4 separate regions of the Homo sapiens genome follow, and regions 2, 3 and 4 are each linked to region 1. Evidence: promoter capture Hi-C in 16 types of primary human blood cells and fetal thymus (Javierre and others, 2016). All regions are on one chromosome and are shown on one strand. Each heading gives the region's core, a stretch centred on a gene start or on the middle of the fragment in contact. The rest is flanking DNA. Distances are from core to core; before and after follow the strand shown. Region 1 holds the start of TFPI2 (tissue factor pathway inhibitor 2). Region 2 overlaps COL1A2-AS1 (COL1A2 antisense RNA 1). Region 3 has its middle 180 kb from the start of COL1A2-AS1. Region 4 has its middle 140 kb from the start of COL1A2-AS1.

The links. Contacts are between HindIII fragments. The CHiCAGO score rates a contact against its expected background, and 5 or more counts as called.
Region 2: a fragment that was not itself captured here is called in contact with the fragment with the promoter of TFPI2 in region 1 in 1 of 17 cell types (M2 macrophages); the score reaches 5.1 in M2 macrophages.
Region 3: a contact is called between a fragment that was not itself captured here and the fragment with the promoter of TFPI2 in region 1, in 1 of 17 cell types (endothelial precursors). The highest score is 6.8, in endothelial precursors.
Region 4: a contact is called between a fragment that was not itself captured here and the fragment with the promoter of TFPI2 in region 1, in 2 of 17 cell types (endothelial precursors and M1 macrophages). The highest score is 5.3, in endothelial precursors.

The regions. Positions count from the first base shown.
Region 1 is chr7:93,889,264-93,892,180 of GRCh38, forward strand. It overlaps TFPI2 (tissue factor pathway inhibitor 2), which reads right to left and starts at 1,490. Exons shown (of 5, transcript NM_006528.4): 1 at 1,328-1,490; 2 at 874-1,056. The coding sequence starts at 1,415. It overlaps TFPI2-DT (TFPI2 divergent transcript), which reads left to right and starts at 1,631. Exons shown (of 2, transcript NR_134235.1): 1 at 1,631-1,816. The HindIII fragment of the contact is 7,194 bases long and covers 236-2,917 here.
Region 2 is chr7:94,371,481-94,374,180 of GRCh38, forward strand. The region is part of intron 5 of COL1A2-AS1 (COL1A2 antisense RNA 1); the gene reads right to left. Among named protein-coding and RNA genes, the nearest start is that of COL1A2-AS1, 19 kb to the right of the region's middle. The HindIII fragment of the contact is 2,789 bases long and covers 1-2,700 here.
Region 3 is chr7:94,205,917-94,208,666 of GRCh38, forward strand. No RefSeq gene overlaps it. Among named protein-coding and RNA genes, the nearest start is that of COL1A2-AS1, 180 kb to the right of the region's middle. The HindIII fragment of the contact is 1,613 bases long and covers 590-2,202 here.
Region 4 is chr7:94,254,637-94,257,451 of GRCh38, forward strand. No RefSeq gene overlaps it. Among named protein-coding and RNA genes, the nearest start is that of COL1A2-AS1, 140 kb to the right of the region's middle. The HindIII fragment of the contact is 1,708 bases long and covers 703-2,410 here.

The DNA.
Region 1 (2,917 bases), core at 240-2,739:
AGCCTTCTTATTAAACCATCACTGTATTTTCAGCAACATTTTGTGGGGGGAGAGAAGTTGTATTAGTGTTGGGATAGTAAATACCCAGAATACTCCCATGAATCCAGATATTTACTTTTTTTTTTTCTAACAGTGTATTCAGAGCTGACTCAGCTGTGATGTATCTTTCAAGTTCAGTAGAAAGACTCTCTGTTTTCTCTGGGTGTTCTCTGATTGTACATATGCAGTGAATCAAAGCTTATTCACATGAATACGCATTTTCCCCTGGCTCAGTTCCTTGAATGGAAAAGCCCCATGTTCTCTTACAGGCCTTAACCGATATAATTTAAAAATTAAAAATAAATTAAAATATAACAGTATTATGAATCTCCACCATGTCCCGCAACTAATCCAACACATGTTTGGGTATCGGGACAAAAGTAGAGTTATATAATGAGCTAAGTCACACTTCAATAATAAAATCCACTAAAAATATTTCAGATTGATGGATAATCGACAGAAGGAAATGATGTACTCCAGGAGAGATAAAAATCATAGGTTTGGAATTAATGAAAAATACAGAGAAGCACTTACGTTGTACCTAACACGTTATTCTCTTGCATTTATTATACCCCATGGTGAGGGAACAAATCTTTCCCTGAGTCCGCACAGGCACTGAATTATGATCAATGTCAGTTGGGAGACAGGAAATGTGTTAGTGGTTGTAAATTTGTGATTACTTTTAAGAAACTGAAAACCATGAGGTTTGCTTAACACTTGAGAAAACCCAGGCTAAAACTTCCTGTAGAAAGCGAGACGTGGGAAACTGGCGAAGCTGCTACCAGCCGCCGGCGCAAGGAGCGCGAGAGTCCTGGGTGCGCGCAGGGCACTTACTTTCTATCCTCCAGCAAGCATCGTCGCAAGCCTCCCAGGTGTAGAAATTGTTGGCGTTGCCCTCGCAGCCCCCGTACAGGAACTGGCGGCAGCTCTGCGTGTACCTGTCGTAGTAGTAACGGAGAAGTAGGGCCCGGCAGGGTCCGTAGTCTAGGGGCAGGAGACAGATCTCCGCGTTATTTCCTGAAGAAGGGGCAGAAGGAGAGCAAAAGAGAGGGAAAGTGGTCAGGCGTAGCTCCTAGGAGGAAAGAACATCCCGGGGAGTTCTGTCCCCTTCCGAGCGGAGGGGCCTCTGCAGAGAAAGTGCAAACTTGGGAGCGAGTCCCCCCTGCCAGCGGAGCGCGCGGCAGGGACCTGGAGAAAGCGAGGCTTGGAGGGCGCCTACACGGGGCCCCATGGCCCGCTGCGCCCTCTCCGCCGGTTGGGGAGAGAAGCTCCTGGAGCGGCCAGATACCTGTTGGCTCCTGAGCAGCATCGCCCAGTGCAGCCTCCGTCAGGAAAAGCAGCAGAATCGACAGCCCCAGGGGGCGAGCGGGGTCCATGGTGCAGGGGGTCGGGCGGCCCGCTGGGCAAGGCGTCCGAGAAAGCGCCTGGCGGGAGGAGGTGCGCGGCTTTCTGCTCCAGGCGGCCCGGGTGCCCGCTTTATGCGGGGCGAGCGTCCGGCCGACCCCCGCCGGGGCGGAGCCTGAGGGGTGGCTGATTCATGCACGGGGACTGTCACCCCGCCGCCCCCGCGCTGCAAACTGTGTAAGAGGGAGAGGAATTCCCCGCCAAGTTGAAAAGTTGAACCTGCCTCCCAAACTTTCTCCTGTAGTCCAGACGGGGACGCCCTGAGGGAGCGTTTGTGTCAGTAATGGGAAATCTGCAAGCTAGACGGAAATGACCTGCTAGTGATTGCGCTGTAAAGAAGCCGGAATCCACCTCTTGAAGGCATGAAGTTCAGGTATTTGAAAGGCTGGTGGAGAGAAAGTGCGGAGTTCTTGGGTCAGAGCGGAGCGGGATTCGTTGCAATGGACCTTCAGATTAGATTAGAAATGTAAATAAGTGTATATTTATATTTATACACACAGATTTCAATCGAGTTCTAATTTACATTTAATACAGGCTTATAATATATCGTAGGTGGACAGTTTGATAAATTTTGACAACTGTGTAGCCACCAATAAAGAATTAGAACATTTTGGCTGGGCGCGGTAGCTCGCGCCTGTAATCCCAGCACTTTGGGAGGCCAAGGCGGGTGGATCACCTGAAATCAGGAGTTCGAGACTAGCCTGGCCAACATGGCGAAACCCCGTCTCTATTAAAAACACAAAAAATTAGCCGGGCGTGGTGGCGGGCACCTGTAGTCCCAGCCCCTCGGGAGGCTGAGGCAGGAGAATGGCTTGAACCCAGGAGGCGGAGGCTGCAGTGAGCCCAGATGGCGCCACTGCACTCCAGTCTGGGCGGCAGAGTGGAACTCCGTCTCGAAACGAAGAAAAAGAAGAAGAAGAAGAAAAAAAAAAGAGTTAGAACATTTCCATCACTCCAGAAAGCTCCTGCAGACTTTTTCCTAAATCAATCCTTCCATCCTTAGGCCAGGGGCAAACACTCTTCTCATTTCGATTACCATAGATTAGATTTGCCTATTCTTGAATTTCATATAAACGGAATTATAAAGTATTCACTGTGTAGTATTTCTTTCTCACACTTCCTGTTTTTGAGATACGCCCAGGTCACTGCATCAATAGTCTGTTTCTTTTAATTCCTGCGTAGTCCAAGGTATGAATTTACCAAAACGTATGAATATCCCACAATGTATAAATATGTTGCTGTGTGTATCAATAGTCTGTTCCTTTAAATCATTGAGTAATATTCTAATATATCACAAATGTCTTATTACTGGAATTTGTGTTGTTTCTAGTTTGTTTGGGGGCTCTTATGAAAAAAGCTGCTTTGTGTGGACCTGCAATTTTTATTACTCTTGGATAAAATACTTAGAAATGTTAGACACTGCCAAAGGATTTTTTCAAGATGATTGTACCATTTTACACCCCAACCAAGCATG
Region 2 (2,700 bases), core at 100-2,599, 480 kb after region 1:
AGAGCTGTTCCCTAGGTGAAAAATTTATTTATTTTTTTTTTCTGCATGGCACCTGTTCCACTCACTACCCTCCTATAAACTACTCCTTGTAGGACCACCCAAGCATACAGGAAAAGGTGGAAATGCCATGTTATGGGCTGGATTGTGTGCCCCCCAAAATTCCTGTGTTGAATCTTAGCCCCTAGTACCTCAGAATGTGACTTTATTTGGAGATATAGTTTTTAAAGGGTAATCAATTTAAAATGAGGTCATTAGGGTGGGCTGTAATCCAATATGATTGCTGTCTTTATAAAAAGAGGACATTTGGACACAGAGGCAGGCACAAAGGAAAGACGAAGTGAAGATGGAGGGAGAAAATGGTCAAATATAAGCCAAGGAGTGATGCCTGGAAGAGCGCTCTCCTTCACAGTCCTCAGAAGGAACCAATCCTCCCAACAACTTGATCTCAGGCTTCTAACCTCTACAACTGTGAGACAATACATTTCTGTTGTTTATGCCAGTGGTTCCCAACTCCGGGGCCAAGGTCCTTGGCCTTTAACAAGGCCACACAGCAGGAGGTAAGCCGAGGGTGAGAACATTACCGTGGCATTAGATTCTCATAAGAGCGCGAACCCTACTGTGAACTGTGCATGCGAGGGATCTGGGTTGTGCGTTCCTTATGAGAATCTAACTAGTGGCTGATGATCTGAAGTGGAACAGTTTTATCCCGAAACCATCCCCCTCCCACCCCCGTCCCTGGTGCCAAAAGGGTTGAGGACTGCTGGTTTACACGACCCACTTTGTGATACTTTGTTACAGCAGCCCTAGCAAACTAATACACTCCACTGAGCTAGTTCCAAGAAAGAAAGAACAAAAAAGAGGTCTGACAATGACAAATATCAAAATACAGTGGCTTGGATCCTAGTCTCCCTGCCCCTTCTAAAGACATACCCCAGTTTGTATGTTTTCCTTTCGTGGCATCTCCCTTTTTTCCTGTATCTCCCACTTCCCAAAGCTGCCTACAGACATATTTTAACTAGATATAAGTAGGCCAATTTGATGTAGAGGATTTATAACCTGATTTGTCACACTCACCCACCCTACTTGCCTGCCTCAGAATATTTTTTTTTTATGGCCTGACTTCCTCATAAGGGCCCCTTTTAGCTACAATATCTGTAGAAATGGATGTGGTAGGTCATCAGTGGCTTCCTAGAAATTCTGAGAAGAGGAATGGCATGATGAAAAAGGTACTCTAGGAAATGATTAGTGACCATGAAAAGGAGGATGAGAAGAAGGAAGCAGATGCTGAGAGACAAAAATTATTGTCATTTTTCAAGTAGGTGATATGACCAGGTAGTCAACAGGATTAGATTAGATCTGTGGTTCTCAAACTTGAGTGGATGTTGGAATGAGCTGGAGGGTTTGCTGAAACACAGATTGCTGGGCCAACCCTTGAAAATTCTGTTTCAGCAGATCTGGGGTAGGGACCCAGAATTCCTATATGCGTAACAGTGCCAACTCAATGATAATTGATCATGCATATCATGCAAATTCTATCTTATTTTGTCACCATATTAGCCAGGAATTAGAAGCCTCCACACCTAAAATTAAGGGAAAATATGAACTGATGCCTTCAAATCTGGCTATAGTCTTAAGAGGTGACTAACATTTCTATTCCTCCACTCTCCCCACTCCAGGTGGGAATCACTGATTTATAATTTGCAAAACCCTTACATGTGATTTTCTCTTTAAACATTTTTATTATTTTATTTTTTATATTTTTATTTTTTATTTTTCCAAAAGTTATTGGGGTACAAGTGGCATTTGGTTACATGAATAAGTTCTTTAGTGGTGATTTGTGAGACTTTAGTGCACCCATCACCCGAGCAGTATATATTACACCCTATTTGTACTCTTTTATCCCTTGTCCCCCTCCCACCCTTCCCCTCAAGTCCCCAAAGTCCATTGTATCATTCTTATGCCTTTGCGTCCTCATAGCTTAGCTCCCACATATCAGTGAGAAGAGGCATCACGCTACCTGATTTCAAACTATACTATAAGGCCATAGTCACCAAAACAGCATGGTACTGATATAAAAATAGACACATAGAACAATGGAACAGAATAGAGAACCCAGAAATAAACCCAAATACTTATAGCCAACTGATCTTTGACAAAACAAACAAAAATATAAAGTGAAGGAGGGACACCTTTCTCAATAAATGGTGCTGGGATAATTGGCTGGCCACATGTAGGAGAATGAAACTGTATCCTCATCTCTCACCTTCCATTTGACTTTCAAGAGCAATTGATGAATTCACAAATAATGGTTCTGTTCATCATTCTATTAAATAGGCTTTGAAAATATTACCCCCAATTTACAGATGAAAGAAATGATGATCAAAGGGCATTTTACCCCTCTCTCATTTCTGTTCCTGCCAAGTTTTTAACAATTTGCCCAAAAAATTAATGTCCCAACTCTGGAAGTTGCCCTTAACATATATGATGAGAACAATATCAGGCTGATCATTAAATTCACACAACTAATTTAAAGCAAAGCACCACTCAATCGGAATCCATTAAAAACAGCAAGTCAACCTTAACAGACTTCTCATTGGTAAATTATGGATTGTGCTTGAATGTTCATCCTATAGAACTGATCAAGTTTCTGGGTTTTTTTCTCTGTCCTTAGACTTCATGTTATATAAACAAGTGTCAGGG
Region 3 (2,750 bases), core at 146-2,645, 320 kb after region 1:
TAGCTCTAAGTTAAAGCTGCCACTGAATAATGCCTAAATATCTTGTGGTCAATCCTTTAGGGTATGTCTCATTCAAATGTGCTGCCTCCATGATTTTTGTGCACTGTGATTAAATTGTGAATTTGTTCTCTTTGACCTCTAGAAACTTTGGGAATTGTCTAAAAAGATTTTTGTTAAAATCAAGATTACATTAATAATAATTTATTATTAAATAATTAATCATCAAGGGACATTACTCTATGTAGATTAATTCCATGGAAAGAAAAGTAATGAGCTGTAAATACACAGAGGAAAAGCAAGATTATAGAAAGAAATATTAAATGTAGTAAATGCAAAAGAAAAAATGTGAGTATAGAAAATCCTCTGTGGAAAGGAAAGCTTGCACTGCGAGGGAAGACAAAAGGCAAAGGACTGAAGGACTTCTCCAACAAGGAATTACTGTAAACACTTTTAGAATATAAATGGAAACATACTCCAATTCTTGACTGATATTTGAAAGCTCCTAATTCAGGAAGGCAATTTTTTTTTCTGAGAAATTTCTCCAGGGATTGAAATTGCTCAATAAGAACATTTGTATATCCATTCTTGAAGCTTTGATTTCAAAAGTTAATATCTAGTCACCATATTGTGTAACTGTGAGGCAAGGAAAGAATTAGCCTTTAATGCTAATTACTTTCCTCCGATACTAGTATAACATTAATCTGGCAACTGGAATTCTCTTAAAGTTGGATATTTTAAATTTTAAATTTCCAATTTAAAATTGGAAACCCCTGTATATTTCTTGCAATTAAAATATTTAATATCATTTTGCTAATATTACTATGGAGTTATCAAAGTGATATCATTGTCAATGTTGCTCATTCCAAAGTGGAGTTACCAAACTAAACTTTCTAGAATCCTGCCAATATATCTGTGTGAAAACAGCTTTCCAAAGTGGGATTCCACTGAGTAGGATACATATAAGGAAGGAATTATGGTGAATGAGATGGGAAAAAGGAATATTTCAAATGTGATCAGTATGATGTAAAATACTTTGTGCCAAGAAGAATTTGATACTAGAAAAGTCAGAATACTTGGGATTGAGAGTACCTCTGCTGTTCTACAGAGATGGGAAATTTATTGGACCTCTCCAAATATCAGCTTCTCTTTTTGTAAAATGGGTTAGCACTACTTATCTCACAGGGTTATTATGAAGATTAGGTAAAATAATGTAGTTTAAAATGTTTTATAAGCTGTACAGCAGCTGTTGTTATTGTTGCCACTGTGTTGTTATTTGTATATGCTTTATCAATAGTCCTCATCCAGGGCTATACATAAACATCCATTGTGAAATATCTTCATAAATGCACATGCTTGGATTCAGTTTAAGTGTTGAAGGTGGGCTCAGTTATACCTATTTTGAAAAGCTATCCTGGCAATTTTGATCCTTGCTACGATCCATGGGGTTTATATTCTATTCTCAAGCCTCAGAATTTCTGGTCCCTAATGTTTACTACTACTGAGAACCAGAAGACCACAGGAAGGCATTCTTTCTCCTTCAGTCCCAGAACTCAATCAATGGTATTTCATATCTCCTAAGTTTCCAGTGAATTGCAGAAATATGGAATTTACTGTATGTAATGAGAATTTTAAATTTGGGGAACTTACAATTCAATAGTTTAAAGAATGTCAGGATTTTGCTCTCCTTCAAATCTCTAGCTTAACACCCATTTCAATTCTGTTACCTACCTAAGTTCTCAGAAAACCCAATCTCACAGTTTCTTTCTTTGGCAATGGTCTATCCTAGAATATTTGTCATCTTTTTCTCCATGTTTCTGTTGGAAGCATGGAAGCATCAGGGTATGGGGTTCTATTTGCTGGTTACCCCATGTGTCCACATTTCTCAAAAAGAGTTGAAAGTTGCCCCTAAACACCTCTACACACACACACACACACAATTGCCAACAAATTCATTCACTTCCATGTATCTCTAGAGTCCACATACAATATACCAGGCACTAAGCTCCACTCAGGGAATACGCATAATCCAATTTTTGCTGTTGAGGACTCCCTGTTGAGTAGAACCACCAGACAGAAAATATAAATGCCAGCAGTTGCAATTTTAGGTAGACATGCAATAAAAGGAAGATGAAACGTATCTTTATCTTAATTTAAGGCAGGGATTCAATAGTGTACCAACCATAAACAAAACCTCACACCAAAAGCTTTGGTGATTAGTATCAGTGGTATCAACTGAGAACTCTAACCCCTTTCAGGACTTATCTCTGTTTATTTTAACACCATTTATTATTCTTTCCAGAAAGTAAATTTCCTAATTGGTGTGATACTTCCCTACCAACCCCATTTGTGCCATTTATTCATATAGTAATCTTTTGCCTGGCTAACTCCTACCTATCGAAGCTCACCTCAAGAGTCCCCTTCTCCTCAATGTCTTTTGTAATCCACCACTGTTCCCTAAATTTAGGCAAAGCCACCTCTCCTTTGCTCCTTCTTGCTAAACACATAGTATGCTAGGGAAAACTGCCTCCCAGATGCAGTTTTCAAGGTGCCTACTTAATTCATAAACATGGAAAAAATCTTAATTACTTTAACTTATATTTCCAGAACTCTTTCTGCTTCCCTTCTGAAGAATTATCAAAGTTTCATATTTCTCATTGTTTGTCCCAGTTTTTAAGCACTTCATTCTTACAATTTATCTTTTAAACTGGCTCAGAGTTTACAAACTAATATGAGATATCACATACTTCCGT
Region 4 (2,815 bases), core at 307-2,806, 370 kb after region 1:
CTATTTTATCACTTATGCATGTGTCCATAAACAATGTATGTTATTGGTCGCTGCGTTTTTACATTTTATACAAATCATACAATTATTGCATGTATCTTTTTACAACTTGCTTTTTTCGTTAAACATACTCTGTGAGATTTATTCATACTGATATATGTAGATTTAGTGAATTCATTTTAACTGCTGTACAACACTCATTGTATAAATAAACCCAGCTTATCTCTCCAGTTCCCTACCAAGAAGCAGTTAATATTGTCTTCACTTTTTTTACTTTTGTAAACAGTGCTGCAGTGAAAATCCCGGTGGATGACCCCTTGTGCACATGTGTGAGAGTTTTTCTAAGAAGTGTAACTAGAAATAGAATTTTAGAACTTCAGGATGCATGCATTTCCATCATTACTAATTGATGAAATATTGTTTTCCAAAGTGGTTGTACCAATTTATCCTCTGCTAGCATTACCTGTGTTCTGTTTACTTACATTTTTACCATTATTTGGTGATAACAGACTTATTGTCTTTCTTATCTCTTGGGATGAAATAGTATTTTGTATTATTCTAATATATATTCTCTATGTATCAGTGCAGTTGAATATCTTTTCATATATTTATGAAATCTTCTAGTTTCCCCTTCTGTGAATTGCTTTTTCATATCCTTTTCTCACTTTTAAATGGGTTGTTTTCTGTTCCTTACTGATATATGAAAGCTTTTATGTATTCTGAATACCATTCTTTTGCCAGTTATATAGATAGAAAATATCTTCTTTCTGTGTAGATTGCTTTTTTGCTCCTTTTATGGAATATTTTGTCATTCACAGGTTTTTTATTTAATGAAGCCAAATTTAACACTATTTCTTTAATAGTTGTCTGTTGTTTAAGAAATATCTCTTACCTGAAGTCATAAAATATTGTTCTTTATCTTTTCTTGAAAATGTTAAAGGTTTACTTTTTACATTTATTGTTTAATCTAGCTGCAGTTTATTTTCGTGTATGGTATGAAAGAGAAATCTAGCATTCTTTTTTCTGTGGATAGCCGGTTGTTGTAGCACTGCTTACTGATGAGTGGATTTATAAGGCCACTCTACACAAAGTTCTCATAGGGAGATGAGTCTGTTCCTAGGCTCCAGATTCTTCTCCATTGATCTATTTCTGTCTCCATATCAATAACACCATCTCATTTAATATGACTGTAAAGTAAGTTTTACTCAGAGTGGGGTGAATCTCTTCTTTTTCTTCTCCTTCTCCTCCTACACCTCATTTTCTATTTCTTTCTATAAAAATATTTTAAACCATTCTCAACCATCTTTACTTTTGTATAACACTTTGCATTTTCTTATGAAGTCTGTAAAGCTAAATTTACTTTATAAATTAATTGGAGAATTGTCACCCTCCAATACTAAGTAAATGTTAGTACATTTACTAAATTTTAGGGAGGGTGTAAAGATATAGTAATGATTTTGTATGTTGCTCTTGCATCCAGGAATTTAGCTTAACTATTGCTGGTATGAACAGTTTATAAATTTTCTTATTAATACATTTTTCCATGTAGACAATTATATCATCAATAATAATGATTATTTTATTTTTTCCTTTCTGATCTTTTCACATTAAAATTTTTTAATTAACTAATTTGTCTTATTCCACTTACTAAAATCTCCAGTACAATATTTAAATGAAATGGTAATTGCAGGCATCATTTACAAGAGACTTAGATGAAGCGTCTAATGTTTCTCTACTAGGTATAATATTTATGAGAGTTTTGGGTTGATATTCTATATCAGGTTAACGAAGTTTTCTCATTTTTCAATTTTATTATAAATTTACAGATTTCTTTGTTTTTTACCCTGAGTGAGTACTAAACTTTATCAAGTAATTTTTCTGAATCTGTTGAGATAATTGATTTGCATCTTCAATCTGTTTATATGGTAAACAAAATTAATAAATGTTGGTCTAATGTTTAATCATTTTGGCATTTCGAAAATGAACCCCATTTGGTCATGCTATATATTTTAATAAATTGTTGGCCTTGTTTTGTTAATATTTTATTTATGATTGATTTTGCATCATTTTCATAAATGAAATCAGCTAGCAGTTTTCCTCTGTGATACTACAGTTCTGACAAATTGTTCCTTTGTGGTACTAGAGCTCTGAAAACCTCGGTTTCACATTTTTATCAACCTCATAGAACAAGTTGTGGAGGATTTCTTTTTTTCTATTATCTAGATGAGTTTATATTAAAAAGAAATTACATATTTCTCAAATTTGTAGCACTTGCTCGTTTAGCCCTTGGAGTCTGATAAATTTCATCTGGATTTACTTTTAACTGCTGAATAAATTTCTTTAACAATTACAAAGTTCCTTAGTCATTTTGGCAAATTTGGCAATTTTTCTATAATTTTATTTTTTTAACTAAAGCTTTCATGTTTATCACCAAGGTAGCTTCTGGACACACACACACACACACACACACACACACACACACAAACACACACACACGGCAATTGTCTTTTTTTATTCCTAATATAATTTATCTATGTCTAATTTCTTTCTTTTTTCATTAGTCTTACTCAAATTGTTCCTATTTTATCTTTCCAAAAAATCAATGTTTGGCTTTATTGACACTCAATATTGTTTCCTTTTTTTCTATTTCTATTTCTTTAACTTTTATTCATTTCCTTTATATTCTCTTCTTTTTACTTTCTTTGGACAAACTGCATATTAATTTCTAGGCTTGGGATTTCCCAAACAAGCAGGAATTGTAAAGTTAAAAAACTCCAAACTCAGTAAGGTAATAGCTTGTGATTTCCAGGAGAGACGC